Regions from separate parts of the Homo sapiens genome. Here regions 2 and 3 are each linked to region 1. Evidence: promoter capture Hi-C in human tissues and cell types (Jung and others, 2019). All regions are on one chromosome and are shown on one strand. The core of a region is centred on a gene start or on the middle of the fragment in contact, and the rest is flanking DNA. Distances in the headings are between cores, read along the strand shown. Region 1 holds the start of NFU1 (NFU1 iron-sulfur cluster scaffold). Region 2 has its middle 18 kb from the start of LINC01816. Region 3 holds the start of LINC01816 (long intergenic non-protein coding RNA 1816).

Region 1 (3,789 bases), core at 476-2,975:
CACTAGCTCCAGTGTTGATCACAGTAAGAGCTGTCACCACTTTATTTTGAGATGGAAATAATCTCGCTTTTCTCACTCTGTCACCCAGGCTGAAGTGCAGTGGCGTGATCTTGGCTCACTGCAACCTCCACCTCCCTGGTTCAAGCAATTCCCCTGCCTCAGCCTCCCAACTCGCTGGGATTACAGGCACACACCACCACGCCCAGCTTTTTTTTTTTTTTTTTTAGTTTCACCATGTTGGCCAGACTGGTCTCGAACTCCTGACCTCAGCCAATCCGCCCAGCTTGACCTCTCAAAGTGCTGGGATTACAGGCGTGAGCCACCACGCCCGGCACACCACTTTAAATTACATGAATCTATTACAGCACTCATGACTGTCATTATTTGTTAATATATTTTTCTTGCTAGACTGCATACTCATTAAGGGGAGAAACTATCTTCATTTCTAGCTGCTAGCACAATGGCCTCAGTTCTTCATCTCTACAATGAGATTAGTTTCACAGCTACCTCATAAATAATCCAGAGAATCCATGTAAAGTGCTTAAACCAGTGCCAGGCCATGCAGTAAGTGCTCAATAAATGGCAGCTGCTACCATTATTTAATTGGTGCCCAATAATTACTAATTGAGTGCAGTTCAAGGTTTGGGGTAAAAATGCCTTTTTCTATAGCTCAGTATCTAAATCTGTGAATACTCTGGAATTTGGAAATGCACTAGAAGAATAATATTCTCGTCCCTTCAGCCCAGGGAAAAGGCAGCAGAATGAATAAAGAGGAAGCACATTCCAACATACAGGTTTAAAGTCTTGTTTTTTTAAAGTAAGAGTGGATTACATTATTCAAGGAAGACATCTACTCAAACACAGGAGGTAACTAACAAAAAATTCTACCAACTTAAATCTTTTTAGGATATACATTTAAACTTCAAGAGCACCATTAACACTACAATGTCTAATACTCTAGAGGGCAAACTCTCCGTAGGCCATTTTCTCCAGACGTAAAATTAAGGTACACCTACATAAATGTCCTCTTAGCAATGTTCACAGAAGTCTTTGAAAGGTGAAACTCAAAGGTAGGGCTCAGGGAGGCGGAAAAAACAAGGGAACAGAGTGGGCTTAATGGTGGTGGGTGCAGGGAATCTAGGGGTCCTGGTTCTCGTCGGAATTCCATCACTTAGAAACTGTGTAACCTTGGACATGTCACCTCCTCTTTCAGGGCCTTACTGGGAAAATGAGGAAACGAGACAAGGTATTTTCTTCCCTTCTGTGTGACATTCTGATTCTGCGTTTAGAAGAGGAGGGAATGCACCCGGTAGAGGGCCTGGGGGCGGGAGAGGCACACGATTTTAAAACAGCTCCTCCGTTCTGGCTCTACAGCCAGTCTCTACAAGCTTCCGTACCGCAGAGACTCAAGAACTGGGTCTCTGAGCCTGAGAGGAAGCTCCAGAGAGTCCGCCCGGATTAGGCCACAGAAGCGCCGAGCTCCCGCACAGACAGCCTCAGGGCTCACCCCCAACTACGGCGACAGGGCGGACCCGCCGGCTCCATCAGATGCACTACCCACCCGCCTCGAGAGAGGGTCTGCAAGGCGGCGACCGCTCCGCTGGCTAAGCCCAGCGGCACACCTATTCGGAGCTCCAGGCTCGTCACCTACCGCCTGCGCAGCCCGGCGGCAACAGCCGCAGCTCCCCAGCCCCGCCTGGCCGTCGCCGCCATCTTAGTCCGGAGTGCCTAAGGGTCTCCCTGACAGAACCACGAAAGATCTGCGCAGCCGCAGGCTGGCCGGTAGCTGGGCGGGCACTGGGAAGAGCCCACCCTACCGGCTGCGGGCGGTCCTGCTGCGGATAAGTGCGGTGGCCTACGCGCCGAGGTTTGCAGGCTACTGCGTCACCCTGACCAAGAGAGGCCGGGGAACCTTTCCCGTTTGCGCCAACGCTTGGTTAATTCACGCAGCACTGTGAACGCATGCGTGTTTCCGTACTTTGTTTTCCCTGTTGGCTAGGTTTTTAGCTGGTGCTGGTGCTGCCTTGCGAATGCTGTTTCCAGCCCCTAAACCTGACCCATTCCCTCCTCTAGGACCCTACTCAGCCTCCAGGCCCAGCTCAGTGACTGCCCCCAAAGACTCCCTGGAGCATTCCTTCTAAAAGGTTCTCGCATTTCTCCTGCCCTTTTCCCATGGGTCTGATGTGGAACTGTGTCTAACCCTTCCTCATAGCTGTGCTTGTCAGCTGCCACTTGGTCATCTTGGACCAACCCGCACAGAGGATGTATCTGGTACAGTGCTGCCCTTCTCCGATTAACATGAGACTTGACTAGTTTCCAGGGCAGAGTGCCAAAGCCCATTACCTATTCTTCCAGAACCTTCCTGGAGTATTCCGTTTTCTCTAGGACAACGGTTCTCAAAGTGCGGACTAGGGGCCAAAAAAAAGCAGGAGAACACGTTAGAAATGCACGTTAGAACATGTTAGAAATCCTGGGCCCCACTTTATACTTACTGAGGCACAATCTCTGTAGGTGGGGACTAGAAATCTTTGTTACTTGCTTTTTTTTTTTTTCTTTTTCCAGAGACAGGGTCTATCTCTGTTGCCCAGGCTGGAGAGCAGGAGTGCGATCATAGCTCACCAAAACCAACTCCTGGGCTCAAGTGATTCATCCTCCAGCCTCAGCCTCCCAAAGCACTGGGATTACAGGTGTGAGCCACGGTGCCTGGCTTTTATTAGCAGTAGTAGTAGTAGTATTTTTGTAGAGAAGAGGTCTCCCTGTGTTGCCTGGGCTGCTCTTGAACTCTGCTGGCCTCAAGTGATCCCTCTCACCTGGGCCTCCAAAAGCTCTTAGGTTACCTCACCCTGCCTAGTAGTGTTTTAACAAACCCTTCCCAGGATTCTGATGCCAGCTAAAATTTGAGAATCACTGTTCTGGAAGACAGAGGACTGGTTTCCAGAATGGAAACAGCACACCTGTTGTTGAACAGGTTGAGGCCACACCCAAGACAACCCTAGTAATTTCTATGGCCCACAGACACATCTAAGAGGGTGGGTGGGTTTCAGGCCTGCAGCTCGCCCGGGCCCGCACACTGAGTGGGCTGTGCCTCCTACGAGTTTGGTTCATTCCCAATGCTGCGTACTTGCTTTTAACTACTAGTGATCTTCCCCCATCCAACCCCCCACCCAGTGATCTTCCCCCATCCAACCCCCCACCCACCCCCCCACACACACCCATTCTAGACCGCAAGGCAGTCCAAGGCTCTGTTTTTGACCCTCAATCAAAAATAAAATGTGGCTCTTCCACCTTGGAACAATCGTTCTTCTCAGACTTCAATTTTTCCCTCTCTGATGGATTCCTTATCATAAGAAAAATCCTGCCTTGCCCCAAATCCTCTTCCACACTCTTTTCTTCCCTTCAGAACCAAGTGGCTTAAAAAAATGGTCTGCACTCTTAGTCTCTAGTTTTTCACTTCCCACTCCTCAAACCCCTGAAACGAGGCTTCTATGTCCCACCATTCTTAGGGCCTGCTCTAGTCAAACCACCCACAGCCTCTGTGCTACTGTGTCCGGAATTGGTGGGTTCTTGGTCTCGCTAACTTCAAGAATGAAGCCATGGACCCTTGTGGTGAGTGTTACAGTTCTTAAAGATGGTGTGTCCAGAGTCTGTTCCTTCAGATGGTCAGATGTGTCCGGAGTTTGTTTCTTCTGGTGGGTTCGTGGTCTCACTGACTTCAGGAGTGAAGCTGCAGACCTTTGCGATGGGTGTTACAGTTCATAAAGACAGCACGGGCCCAAAGAGTGAGCCACA
Region 2 (3,789 bases), core at 961-3,460, 710 kb after region 1:
CCTTTTTCCTAACCAAAGCCACTCTCAAGGGGAAACTTCTATTAACGGCCAGTAAGCAAGACACACAACGCTTTTTGTTTGAAGGACTACCCAGGCGTTAGTGCCCTTCCAGACCGGCTCTAGTGACTGGCGGGGAAGAAGGGGAAAAAGAATTAGTGTATCTGGACACAACACCCAGCATGTGCTAGGCAGAAACTAAGTGTGCGAAGCGGATCCCGATGTACAAAGGGGAAAACAGCGGCTGGGAAAGCCTGAGCCACGGGCTCCAGGCGGCCAGTCGCGGTCCTCCCGGCGCGTGCCCTCCTCCTCCCCGACCTGGCCGGAGCTGACCGGGGCGGGTGTAGGCCCGGGGGCGGGAGGGCTACTGGATCCCAGGTGGGGCGGGTGTAGGCCCGGGGACGGGAGGGCGACGGGATCCCAGGTAGGGCGGGGCCTGGCTCCGGGCGCGACGGCTCTTTGCTCGCAGCGCCGCGCCGTCTCGAGGTCGGGGTGCGGCCCGACCCCACGTGCCCCAAATCCCCCCCGCTGCCCTGTAAAACCTGCGGGCCCCGGTCCAGGCGTGGTCCCGCTCGCACGAGGGAGCGGTCGCCCAGGGTGCCGGGAAGTCGGGGACCGGCCAGCCGCCGACCGGCCGCACCCCTCCCCGCCGAGCTCGCGCGCCCGCCTCGTCAGCACCTTTCCCGCAGCGCAGCCCCACAGTGGTCACGAGGCGGGCGCGGCCCGGTCAGCCCTGGCTAGACTAGGCATCGGCACCACCCACCTCGCCCCTCCCCGTCCCGCTGGTTTCCCCTCCCCCTCCTTCCCCTCCCCCTCTCTGTTCTCCTTCCCCTCCCGATCCCCGGGCGGGCCGCAGCGCGCCACGTACCTGGCCCCGCCCCTGCGAGCCACGCAGGGAACCCCGGTGACGTCACCACCCTCCGGCGCTCTCATTCCCGCGCTCTCCAGAAAAGACGCGAAGGTGGTGACGTGTCCCGTGCGCCAGGGCGGCTGCGCAGGAGGCATTGGCAACTGAGCGTCCTGCGGCGCCGCCTGGTGGAAGCAAAGCAGCCGAGCCCCCCGGAAGCGGCGGCGCGGGCGAGTGGAGAACGTGACTTACGTCATCTGGCGGAGGCGTGGGGGCGGCTGCCGCGTGACCAGCCCCAGCCAGGCGCGGTCGGCGCGTTTCTCTTTCTCTTCTCCTACTCTCAGCGGAGCGGGTGGAAGCTTGATTTCATGCCGTTTATTTTACTTTGACTGTTTTCAAACCTATCAAGTTAATATTGTTAATTATAGAAAACGTGGGGGGAAAAGGGAAAAGATAGGTAGAAAATGATTCTTAGCATCCCCAAGCATCTTTAACCTTTCATTATGTTTACTTCCAGCCTTTTTCATGAAACAAAATTGTGGTCTGACTGTATACAGTGGTATTAACTACAAAGATTCCTAAGAAGGGACAAAAAGCACCTTTTAGCTTCAAGGCTAATTTAGAGGAACAGGTAGAAGAGGAAAAGTTCAAACAATGGACAAAATGAGTGATTCGTCCACGGTATCTAATCACTGTTCACATCATCCGGAGGAAACGGGCTCAGAGTCATGCCCAAGGCCGCGCATAAAAGAGTGGCAGACTGGGGTTTCAAACCCAGGCTCTAAACTGTGAACCTGCAAGATGGTGGGAGTGGGGAAGACAGTGAAAAGTTGTGCAGGGAATTCACAGAACTACAGAACCCACTTTGTACTTCTGGAACTGCTGAGTGGGGAACTAGTTCTAAGGAACAAGGTTAGTGCCCCAGCAGTTGGAGCAGTTTGGTGAGAGAGTGGCACAAAGCTGACACTGGTACATGGCCCTGGCCACTAGTTGTTAAGTTCCACCCATCTCCAGCACTGCCCTCCCCATGAGTGACAGTGAAAGGTGGGAGGGACGTTACAGGACTGTATCAGGCATTAGACCTGCTACTCCAAGTGCAGTCTGGTGCAGTCTGCAGGCCAGCAGCCTCCCTGCTGTCCAGCACTTTCCGCATCACTTGGAAGCTTGATGGAAATGCAGAATCTTGGACCACACTTTAAAGCTTCTGAATCGGGCGGCATGCGATGCCTCATGCTTGTAATCCCAGCACTTTGGGAGGCCAAGGTGGGTGGATCACCTGAGGTCAGGAGTTTTGAGACCACCCTGGCCAACATGTTGGCCCCGTCTCTACTAAACCCCATCTCTACTAAAAGTACAAAAATTAGCCGGGCATGGTGGCGGGCGCCTGTAATCCCAGCTACTTGGGAGGCTGAGACAGGAGGATCGCTTGAACCCGGGAGGCAGAGGTTGCATTGAGCCAAAACTGTTCCGTTGCACTCCAGCCTGGGCAACCAAGATGTCCCTTCTTAGGAACCTTTGTAGTTAATACCACTGTATACAGTCAGACCACAATTTTGTTTCATGAAAAAGGCTGGAAGTAAACATAATGAAAGGTTAAAGATGCTTGGGGGTGCTAAGAATCATTTTCTACCTATCTTTTCCCTTTTCCCCCCACGTTTTTGAAACTCTGTCTCAAAAAATTTAAAAAATAAAGCTTCTACATCAAAATACGCATTTTAACTAGGTCCCTGGGTGATTCCTGTGCACATTGAAGTTTGAGAAGTGCTGTTGTAAATAAAGTAAGTCGTCCTGCTCGCTTGGTACAGCAGGTGGGATGGTAGATGCGAAGGGCGCTTGCAGAACTGGATGATGGGAAGACAGGCAGGCAGGGAGCAAGGTCGGTAAGGAGGATTAAAAAAAAATCAAGGCTGGGCGCGGTGGCTTACGCCTGCAATCGCTGCGCTTTGGGAGGCCAAAGCAGGCGGATCACCTGAGGTCGGGACTTCGAGACCAGGCTGACCAACAGGGAGAAACCCCGTCTCTACTAAAAATACACAATTAGCCGGGCATGGGTGGCGCATGCCTGTAATCCCAGCTACTGGTGAGGCCGAGGCAGGAGAACTGCTTGAACCCGGCAGGTGGAGGTTATGGTGAGCCGAGATCATGCCATTGCACTCCAGTCTGGGCAACAAGAGCGAAACTGCGTCTCAAAAAAAAAAAAAAATTCCTACGAGTGTCAGAAAATATGATCTGCCACAAAGGAAAACCAGGAAATCAGAATCTGGGAGCTAAAGGAAGAAGAAATAGGTGAAGCAGGTAAGCAGATCTCTTGAGAAAATTCACTAATAGACAAAGGGCTGCCCCCCTGTGGGTGATTTTTTTGTGTTGTCTGTGACTTACAGGGTCTAGTTATTATAATTCACAGAGCTTAGGGAGAGCAGCCCCTGCCCATCCCCTCCAGCAGGGTATAGTGAGATTTCTCTGGGTTCTTCTAGCTGAGGGCATATTCTGGGCGTTTTTGGACAGGGGAGAACCAGGGATAGGAGGAGCTGGCTGAGGTTCTGACAGAACAGTGTCTGTTGGATGAGGGCTGGAGTATGTATGGTGTGCGCTTGTGTATGCACATGTGGGCTGGAGGGAAGGGCAGGGCATTGGCACCAACCCAGGACAGCAGTCACTGAAAGATGGGGTGAATTTAGGTGATTGGGAATTAGTGGGCCCACAAAGCCACAGGGCTGATGACATCTGGTACCTTGAAAGTCAGGTGGCAGGCCTACAGATCTCTTGGGTGGATAGTTCTTGGAGTTAGAGTTTGGAGGTCCCCAAGTAGCTTCTAAATATTAGCAATCTGGCTGGGCGCCGTGACTCACGCCTGTAATCCCAGCACACTTTGGGAGGTCGAGGCAGGTGGATCACCTGAGGTCAGGAGTTCAAGACCAGCCTGGCCAACACGGTGAAACCCCATC
Region 3 (3,789 bases), core at 815-3,314, 690 kb after region 1:
CCCCTGAGGCTCTAGGCTCCTGGTTCACCTGTTCTGAATCCCTGTCTCTTGGGAGGCAGGGAGTGAGCTATTTGTGTAAGACTAAGGCCTTAGAATATGTCCCACGTTCTCTGGCATCAGACACCCCACTCAGGGGCCAAACAGAAAGCTGTGAAGGGTGGTGAGAAAAGTCTCTTCTTACACCTCCTCTCCACCACTATTTAGTACCTTGCTTTTTTAGCTTTCATGTTATATTATGACTGGTTTCCCATGTCATTAAATATTCTTCAGAAATTTAACTTTGATGATAACATATTATTCCCATTACCCATAACTTCATCATCCTCCAACTGTTCAAAAGTTAGATTATTTCTAGCTTTTACTATTACAGTATATTTAACATCACCTGGTAATTGATCTAAAAGGAATAATTAGGAATCAGTCCCCAAATTTGGAGATGGCAACCAAGAAGTCTTTTTCATTTTCCACAGTTTTCCCACATTTTTGTTTTTTTTTTCAAGAGATGCTCTGCAACTCAGGCTGCAGTGCAGTGGGATGATCATAATTCACTGTAACCTCAAATTCCTGGGCTCAGGCTCCCAAATAGCTAGGATTAATGGCGCATGCCACCATGCCAGGCTAATTTTATTTTTGTAGAGACGGGAGTCTTGCTATGTTGCCCAGGCTGGTTTTGAACTCCTGGGCTCAAGTGATCCTCTCGCCTCGACCTCCCTAAGTGCTAAGTGTTGGGTTTATAGAGATGAGCCACCATGCCTTCTTTTCTTTTTTTTTTTTAATTCTGTTTTGCAAAGAATATCCCTCTTGCCAGCATCTGAATAATATCTATCTTTACTATTATTTATGTGTGTAAATAGCTTTACAGTTCACAAAGCATTTTCTTATATAATGTCTCATCTAATCAACACAGCAACACTATGAAATAAGTTACTATTTCCATTTTACATTTGGGGAAATTAAGCTCAGAAAGGCCATGTGACATGTTCAAGATAACACATTTAGTGTCAGAGCTGGGACGTGGACCCGGGTCTTGGGACTCCCGAAACCATATCCTTTACCGTGGGCAAAGTGCTATGCTGAGGTCTTACCACACACATAGATGGCACTGGAAGAAGGGCAAGTATGGAACAGCACCCCAGGCAGAGTGGGCGATGCCACTGGTAAGATACAGAGAAAGTACTACACACAGTGGCGTTGCAAGGACAGAGCAGTTCCTCCCACAAAGGGCATGCAGTAGGCTTTGGGAAGAAACGTGGCCAAGTCGGGTCTTCAAAGGTGAATAGGATCTAGATATTCAGAATAAGAGGGCTTTCCACAGGCTCAGTGAATGGGAAAGGAAAGTGTGGCTGATTGGGGAAAGCGCTAGCACAGGGAGCAAGAGATGGGGCGTGGCTGGGGAGGAATGGAATTGTAATTCTAGCCTCACAAAGGCTAGAGCCAGCAGGGCCTTGGGATCATGTGGGGAGGAAACCAGAGATGTGTGGAACAATTTGCTGAAGGCAGAACCAGGCAGGGAAAGGGCAGGGTCAGGTTCGTACCCTTGCCTCTGGCCACCAGGGCCAATGCTCCTTCCCTGCAGTAAACCCGATTAATCTCCTCAAACTCAGGTGCCATTTCCTTGGAATAGTATTTACCGCGGGGCGCGGTGGCTCACGCCTGTAATCTCACGCTTTGGGAGGCTGAGGTGAGAGGATCCCTTGAGCCTAGGGGTTCGAGACCAGCCTGGGCAACATAGCGAGACCCTGTGGTTAAAAAAAAATTAAAATTAGCCAATAGTGGTGGCACGCGCCTGTAGTACCAGCTTCTTGGGAAGCTGAGGCAGGAGGATCACCTGTGCCCAGAGAGGGCGAGGCTGCAGTGAGCCATCATCGTGCCACTGTACTCCAGCCTGGGCGACAGTTCGAGACCTTTTCTCAAAAAAAGAAAAAAAAAAGTTGTTCAAGTTGTGTAGTGCACGGGAGGAAAGAAGTATGACAATAACATAGGACAGCAGCCGGCTCTTTTTTTCATCAGGATGTGGAGAGTGGGCGCCTTGGGAAGACGAAATTGAGTATGTGCGGGGGAGGGGTCATATGAAACAAGGTCGGGAAGGGGGCGGGGAGAGCTGGGGCTCTGGAGGAGCTTGGGGCTCGCGCTGCGGGGGAGGAAGCGCCTTCCGCGGTCGCTGGGGGGAAGTGGTTAGGAGGAAGCACGGGCAGTGGAGGGGACTGCTGGAGGGTCCCATCTGGGAAAGCAGGCACGGATGCGGGGACATTTCCGCCCGTCACCCTGGCAAAGCGCTCGCAGGGCTGGAGGGACAGAGTTCTCAGATCCAAGTAGAGAAAACCGGGAACGGTTCCGGCTCTGGGGACTGACATTCATCGCGGCAGTTTCTGGTGGCAAAACAGAGGAAACAAAGGAATGATGAAATGAACTGAGCTGCCTTCATGCCCCGGATGAATGTTCAGCCATTAGAAAAGAGTGAATCCCAGCTGGGATTTGGGGTTCCACGGTGTACTAGAAAAGCAAAACAAAGAGAAGCGCCTACTAGATGCCATCTTGGAAAACAAAAGCAAACGTGTGTGTGTGTGTGTGTGTGTGTGTGTGTGATGTTACATGGGCATGGGGAAATTACGGAAGTAAATACTAATGCTTGTGGCCGGGCGCGTGGCTGACGCCTGTAATCCCAGCACTTTGGGAGGCCGAGGCGGACGGATCACGAGGTCAGGAGATCGAGACCACGGTGAAACCCCGTCTCTACTAAAAATACAAAAAGTTAGCCGGGCGTAGTGACGGGCGCCTGTAGTCCCAGCTACACGGGAGGCTAAGGCAGGAGAATGGCGTGAACCCGGGAGGCGGAGCTTGCAGTGAGCCGAGATCGCGCCACTGCACTCCAGCCTGGGTGACAGAGCGAGACGCCGTCTCAAAAAAAAAAAAAAAAATACTAATGCTTGTGTAAATTGGGATGGTGGAAAATGAGGAAGAGGGCGGCAGGGGAATCCTTAGTACTTACAGAGAAAACGGAGCAAGTGTACAAGCACGCCAACCCCCCCGGTGCCCAAGCTCGGCGCTCACGCGGCTAGGATGACGCCCGTGGGACGCCCCAGGGGCCCTGCTCGCAGCCACTCTGCTCAGGGTCATTTATAGTCTCTCCGTTCTTTGTTAAATAAAGACGGTGAGACACGGACGGGCTGGAGCCGGCAGGGGTAGTGGAGGGCAGAGGGGACGGGTCGGGGCGCCCCTCGCTCCTGCCACGCTGCCGCCGCCCCAGACAAAGACAGCTGCGTACGGCGGGAGCGCAGGGGCGCCTGCGCGCAGGGCCTAAATCGCCTGTCCCGTCTCCCCCTGACGCCCACACACCCAAGCGGCAGCCCACTCCCCTTCTACCCCGCAGCCATTTGCTTCCCACCCCTTGATTTTCTTTTTTCTTTTCCCCTCCCCTCAGCATCCCCCCAACCTCCTCTGATACACTTTGGCTAATTGTCTAATGAATTTACCTATTCTAGGTATTTCGTATAAGTGGAATCATATAATATTCGTCCTTCTGTGTCGGCTTATTTTGCTTAGTACAAGGTTTTTTATTTTTTATTTTTTTTTCTTTGAGACACGGTCTCGTTCTGTCGCCCAGGCTGGGGCACAGTGGCGCTCAGCTCACTGCAACCTCCACCTCCGGGTTTCAAGTGATCCTCCCACCTCAGCCTCCCAAATAGCTGGGACTACAGGTGCGCTGCCACCACTGCCTAGCTAATTTTTGTATTTTTGGTAGAGACCAGGTTTCGCCATGTTGCCCACGCTGGTCTCCAGCTCCTTAGC

What was found. The method cuts DNA at HindIII sites, captures the fragments that hold promoters and counts their contacts. A contact is called where the count stands out against the background at its distance.
Region 2: a contact is called between a fragment that was not itself captured here and the fragment with the promoter of NFU1 in region 1, in 1 of the 25 tissues and cell types used here (hippocampus).
Region 3: a fragment that was not itself captured here is called in contact with the fragment with the promoter of NFU1 in region 1 in 1 of the 25 tissues and cell types used here (aorta).

What each region holds. Positions count from the first base shown.
Region 1 is chr2:69,435,710-69,439,498 of GRCh38, forward strand. It overlaps NFU1 (NFU1 iron-sulfur cluster scaffold), which reads right to left and starts at 1,726. Exons shown (of 8, transcript NM_001002755.4): 1 at 1,652-1,726. The coding sequence starts at 1,713. RefSeq lists an enhancer at 1,582-1,731. The HindIII fragment of the contact is 8,312 bases long and covers 1-3,789 here.
Region 2 is chr2:70,141,804-70,145,592 of GRCh38, forward strand. No RefSeq gene overlaps it. Among named protein-coding and RNA genes, the nearest start is that of LINC01816, 18 kb to the left of the region's middle. RefSeq lists silencers at 136-845, 1,776-1,825 and enhancers at 936-1,295, 1,306-1,445. The HindIII fragment of the contact is 5,722 bases long and covers 1-3,789 here.
Region 3 is chr2:70,122,057-70,125,845 of GRCh38, forward strand. It overlaps LINC01816 (long intergenic non-protein coding RNA 1816), which reads right to left and starts at 3,260. Exons shown (of 2, transcript NR_024444.1): 1 at 2,990-3,260; 2 at 1,980-2,369. RefSeq lists enhancers at 943-1,748, 1,749-2,554 and a silencer at 2,881-3,175. The HindIII fragment of the contact is 6,404 bases long and covers 1-3,789 here.